Regions from separate parts of the Homo sapiens genome. Here region 2 is linked to region 1. Evidence: promoter capture Hi-C in human tissues and cell types (Jung and others, 2019). All regions are on one chromosome and are shown on one strand. Each heading gives the region's core, a stretch centred on a gene start or on the middle of the fragment in contact. The rest is flanking DNA. Distances are from core to core; before and after follow the strand shown.

Region 1 (2,816 bases), core at 249-2,748:
GGGCAGCCCCAGACACCCACTGGCCTCTCACCACTTTCTGTAAGCTAAAGCTCCTTTCACAAAAATAGGCTCAGGGGCCAGCCAGGGACCCTCCCCAGGCCAGCTTAGACTCACCAAGTGGGAGGGCAGAGCTCGGCGGACTCGGGGGCCTGGCAGACGCCACGGCAACACGACCTCATACTGCTCCATGAGGGCCCAGGGCCGGCTGGGGGCAATCGCTGCAGGAGGGAGGGTCAGCAGGCATGAGGGGCCGGGGGGCAGGTTTCCTTCCCAGAGGCCTCCTGGGCCCTCAGATTCTGTCTCTTGCTGGGCTTGACCCTCCCCTGGGGAACTCACCAGATAGCTCTGGGACAAAGACTCAAGTGAGGGTTCTGTGCCTAAAAGACCCCAGGAGCGCCCCCAGGCATGGCCGGTGGGCCTGTGTCCTGCAGCACCCACACACAGTGCTCAGAGACGCTGTGGGTGCCAGCGGGTGCCAGTGACTCCACAGGTCTCCAGGCTGTCTCAGATCTCTGGAGGGGCCCGAGGGCAAGGATGAACCTTCCCCCCAGGGAGGAGGACTCGGGCCGCCGACCTGCCCGTTTCCATTCTCCTCCTCCATTCTTCTGATCATCTGATCGCATCTAACTGGGGAGCAGGAAGTGCCTCCCGGAGGCTGTTCACCTCCCAAGAACTGGAAACTCCCTGGTATCCGAGAGCAGAGGGCAGGGTCCCAGCATGCAATGGGCAGGGTTTCGGAGACCACCAACCCCAGGACCCTTTGCTCCCATTAAAACACAATAGTGGACGTGTCTCCATGACCACATCTCCAACCTGGAGAGGCAGCAGGGGAGCAGCCAGCCCCTATCTGCCCAGGAAACTGGCGGGAAGCAACCCGGCCTCCAGCCTGAAGCTCCTCAGCACACCCCAGCCCAAGTCACTCCAGGAGCAGGGGTGGGATCCAGGGTCAGCAGCCCCATGTCCTCCCCCAGGCAGGAGACGGGTCCCCTCAGCCCACACCCCTGCACTCCAGGCCTCAGCTTGTCTGCCCTCCCTTCCCTCCTCGGCTAAATAGTGGGGGTGGGTAGCCCCACAGGTGAATCCCAGGAACCCAGGGCGCCTCGCGCAGCAGGTGAAGCGTCCTGCTTGGCCCGGCCCCGACCCCACTAACAAGCTCAGAGGCGGGACTTCCCTCTCACAGTTCACCTTTGAAGGTTCCCTCCGACCTCCCCGGCCTCCCCGGCCCGGGGCTCTCCACCCAGAGACCACTGTGCACCTGATGGCCCGCTCCCAGGGACCAGCCCGAAGCCGGGCCAGGGTGCGGGGTGCGAGCAGGCCAGGGGCTCGGGGTCCGCGTCGCGTCCTGCGGGGAGAGCCACCCTGCCCCGCGCTGCGCCCGGGACGGTTCCCTGGAACCACTCACCAGGCAGCATCATCGCGCCCAGCAGCCAGAGCCCGAGGCCGCGCATGGCCGGGTCGGGGAGCAGAGGCGGAGGTGACAGCCCCGCGGGACACGGTCTGGTTCCTGCGCTCCTGGCCCGAGGCTCTTTTCCGCGCGCCCCGCCCCGGCGCCCCGCAGCCAATGGGCCCCTCGGCCGGTGGGAGGGGCGGGGCGCGCGGCACCTGGGGGCGGGGTCCGTTTCCCCTCTCCCCACAATCCAGCATCCTCCCTTGCACAGGTGAGGAAACTCAGGCACAGCCTGTCCCAAGTCCGGCCAGAGCCCCGAGAGGGGGCCTCTCGAAGGACCCGGCGGCTGGAAGGAGGTGGCGCCAGGCAGGTCCTGGAGGGGAAGGGACTTGTGAGGGCCGCCTGGCGGTTTCAGGAGAGGGGGTCTCTGATTTCCTGGGGAACAGAAAGCCTCAGGCAGGGGCAAGTCATGGCTTTGTGGGCATAGGTTCAGCCCTGTGGGAAGCTCTGCCACCCTCCCCCCCAAGCCTGCGCCCCCTCCACCAGGCTGAGGCCTCACCGGAGTGGGATAGGCATGGGCCCGCAGGCGTCCAAGTGGGGAGGGGGAGCCCTAGGTGGGGGTCCCAGCCCAGGTGATGGCAGGTGCAGGGGCCGTCCCTAGCCTAAGATCCCCAGACAGCAGCTGACGCTGGCCGACGTGGACCAAAGCCTGCAGCAGCCCACCGTGGCCTGGCTCCGGCGTCTCCAGGCCTGCGGCCAAGCGTGCTTGCCCTTGGTGACCACATTCCCCGTGGTGGGCTCAGCCTCGAGGGTGCAGGTTTGGGCTGACACCACAGCTCCCCAGACGGTCCACCCAGGACCCCTCCCTGGGGCTTTCACAGCCAGGCCGCCCTCCTGGAGTGGGAACAGTGGTGGTGGCAGGAAAGGCAGCTCAGATGACCACACAGGGCGCTGCTGACAGATCACATGGGGGGGGGGGGCCTCAGGGCCTCCCTGGGGAGAGGCAGGGCAGGGCCAGCAAGGGGCTGGAGGGAGTCCTGCCTGGAGAGAGGGCACCAGGGCAGGGCGAGTCAGGGAACTGCACGGGCCTAGGGGCAGAGGACAGAGGTCAAGGGGCAGTGGCAAGAAGAGGCCGGGGCCTCGGACGTTATCCTGGGAGGACAGGGAACCCGGAGGATCTAAGCTGGCGTGAGTGATGCTGTCACATTTTGTCTCAAAGCCATTCTTACCCTAATGTGAATGGCATGAAAAGCAAGAAAGCAAGGGCTGGCACTGGGCCGCAGGTGACTTCTGCTGCCTGGGGGTGTGTCCGCTTGCCTGTGTGGCACAGGACGAGGTCCCCCAGGCTGCCGAGAGGCTCCCAGGTAGGGCTGGGGATACTGGCCTGTGCCTGAGCTCATGCAGGTGACCCTGTTATTATAGAACAATG
Region 2 (2,719 bases), core at 101-2,600, 320 kb before region 1:
CAGAGAGAGTAGATGATAAACATCTCTTTCTGGACCTTAAAAGGTGCCATAAATCTCTTAGGTAAATCTCTCCCGGATCAGGAAAGGACCTAGTAAGGGAAGGCCACTCTCTATAGACACAATTTTCCCCTACAAGAGTGCACTTTTCCCAGCCATTTCAAAACATGTCAAAGAAACATATTTGGGAGTAAAATACTGTGCTTTTCTTTAGGGTCTGCTATCTGCTGTCATGCAATGCTATGCCAGAGTCAGGTTGGAATTTGGTATCTAATTGCCACAAAAAGTCTATTTGTCAGTCTTATGATCTCTACTTTAGTATAAATGCTGGTCAGCTGTGCCTAAGCTCCAACAGGGAGGGGGAGCCCAGCCTCCCTTCTCATCAATAATCCAGTTTTTCAGGTTTCCTGGGGTCCCCTTGGCCCAGAGGGAGTCCAGTCAACTGGGGGGGGGGGTCTTAGAATTTTATTTTGGGGTTATGAGATCATTAGATAAGTTAGGTCCAAACCTGGTTCATGTCCTACAAAAAGCGTAACCTCTAGGGTTATCTTCTCCAAAAAAATTTCCGCATTATCACCTTTCTGTAAGACGCCCTCCAGTTTCATGGGGCTGCAGTACGGCAGCCTTGGGGGCCGTAAGCGGGAAGGCAGTGAGGCCGCATTTTCCGAGGGAGGGGAGAGTGCTCTGCTGTGATACTAAAATCACTCACCACTAATTTTCCTCAATTTCAAACTTTGGAGATATTTTCTTGAACGTGGATTTTCTTCTTCATTGTTTTCTAGATATTCTGTAAAGAGAACTTTATTTTCTTTTGGCTTAATAGTTATGTTAGAGAGTTAAAAAATGTTCAGATGGTGAGGTTTTCCGCTTCACGGTATTGACTTCAACCGGCAGTGGTACTGCGCTGGGATTGGTGAACGTCGCCTGGCGGTGTGTATGCTTTGGAATTCGTGGTTTCCTCTGGGCCTCGATACGCCATCCATTTTTGTGATTGTTCCATGGGCACTTGAAAGGCCTTCGATGAATATTGGTTAGAACTGTGTTACTGACGACGCTCTTCAGGCCTCTGAAGTGTCTGTCTGGCTCTCCCTGCACACCCTTTGGCTCTGTCACTCACTCTCAGCAGATGCCAATTCCATCCCATTCGGAGCACAGGGGTTTGCTGGGGCTTCTCTGTGGCTCATATCCTTTGCTACCACCAAGTGCCCATCTGTCTCGGTCAGCACTTGTTTCCTTGAAGCCAGCCCTGGCGAGGAAGATCACAAACCTGCCTTTTCCCTGCTCCTTCACTGCTTCCTTTATTTTGGTATAATTTACATGCAGCAAAACGAACAGGTGGTAAGTGCTGCGTTTCCGTGAGTTTTGGAAGTGTGTGCACGTGGTCACCCACACCCCTCAGGACGGAAACCACCCTGTCACCCCACAGAGGCCCCTGTGCCCCTCCCAGTTGGCCCTACCCTGCCCTGGGGCACCTGTGCTCTGACTTCAGCCACCACAGACCAGAGTTGCCTGTTGTAGAACCTCCTATAACGCAGAGCACAGGGGTTTGCTGGAGCGTGTGCTCAACGTGGCAAGTGCAATTCTGCCCAAATCACGGAATTCAGACGGGACTAATGCAGCTCCTCCAGTCTCAGCGGCCATGACCCTGGAGCGTGAGGACTCCAAACCCCACTCTTCTCCACTCTTGGAGGGAAACACCTTGTGCAGCCCAGTGTGCAGACCTTTCCAGGAACACCCCTTCCCAGGGCTGGCACCCCCTGAGAAGTGAGTGGCAGCATGGTTTTGCTTCAGTCAAAGGAAAAAGTCTCTAAGTGTGGAGGTTAGACACCACTCAGAGGGGGCTGGATATTGTATTTGGAATGGAAGCTTTTGCCAATGTCCTGAAATCCCACAAATAGGGATCACTCACTCTGTTCTTTCTCCTCCCTCCCAGCTGAGGTGTGCAGAGAGAGAGGGCGGCATGCAGGAAGGGGTGCAGGTGCAGGTACTGCAGGGTGTGGCAGGGCAGGAAAAGCCTGCCCTCTGAAATGCAGGCCCTGGAAAGCCAGAAAATCCCGGAGTCCCATGGAGGAAGGATGCATCCTCTTGAGATGGCTGTGGATGCCCTGCTGGGGAAGTGAGATCCACGGACCTCTCTTCAGCTCTGGTCTCACCCGGAGCTCTCCCAGTTTATCCACAGTCACTGGGCCATCCAAAAGTCCACCCTGCCCATCTTAATTTTCCTTAAAAGCTGCATTGCCTCCTAACTTCAAATCATTAGCAAAGAGTTGTGCAAAACATTATCCAAGGATCTGAGCATCAAGCACTTTAATTCTCTCTGTCTGTGGTCAGTCTCACGTTCCCAGTCCTAATTTTGTGCATTGACATTTTCTTTGATTTGTTTTTCTTGCTTTAATTATCAGGTGGTTTAGCAGTTTCGTTGTGGTCATTTTTTTTCTTTTTTTCTTTTTAAACAGCTCTGAGAAAATAGTGAACCAGCAGGCATGGTAGGTTCCACTCCAAACCCCAGATGCCTGGGGACACTGGTCAGAGCAGGGAATGGCCGTGTGGGCAGTGGAGGAGGTGGGCTGTATGGGAGAACTCATTTCTTCTTCCCTCCCCTTGTCTCTCTGGCTGGTCACTGCTAACACTGTTGATGAAAAGAGTCAAACTCTGTAAAATAATTGAAGAGATTTATTCTGAGCCAAATACGAATGACCATGGCCCGTGACACAGCCCCAGG

What was found. The method cuts DNA at HindIII sites, captures the fragments that hold promoters and counts their contacts. A contact is called where the count stands out against the background at its distance.
Region 2: a fragment that was not itself captured here is called in contact with the fragment with the promoter of ADAM8 in region 1 in 2 of the 25 tissues and cell types used here (H1 embryonic stem cells and dorsolateral prefrontal cortex).

The regions. Positions count from the first base shown.
Region 1 is chr10:133,275,370-133,278,185 of GRCh38, forward strand. ADAM8 (ADAM metallopeptidase domain 8) reads right to left here and starts at 1,499. Exons shown (of 23, transcript NM_001109.5): 1 at 1,403-1,499; 2 at 115-218. The coding sequence starts at 1,448. RefSeq lists an enhancer at 942-1,589 and a silencer at 1,189-1,748. The HindIII fragment of the contact is 31,119 bases long and covers 1-2,816 here.
Region 2 is chr10:132,950,630-132,953,348 of GRCh38, forward strand. The region is part of intron 1 of LINC01166 (long intergenic non-protein coding RNA 1166); the gene reads right to left. Among named protein-coding and RNA genes, the nearest start is that of CFAP46, 9.4 kb to the left of the region's middle. The HindIII fragment of the contact is 6,557 bases long and covers 1-2,719 here.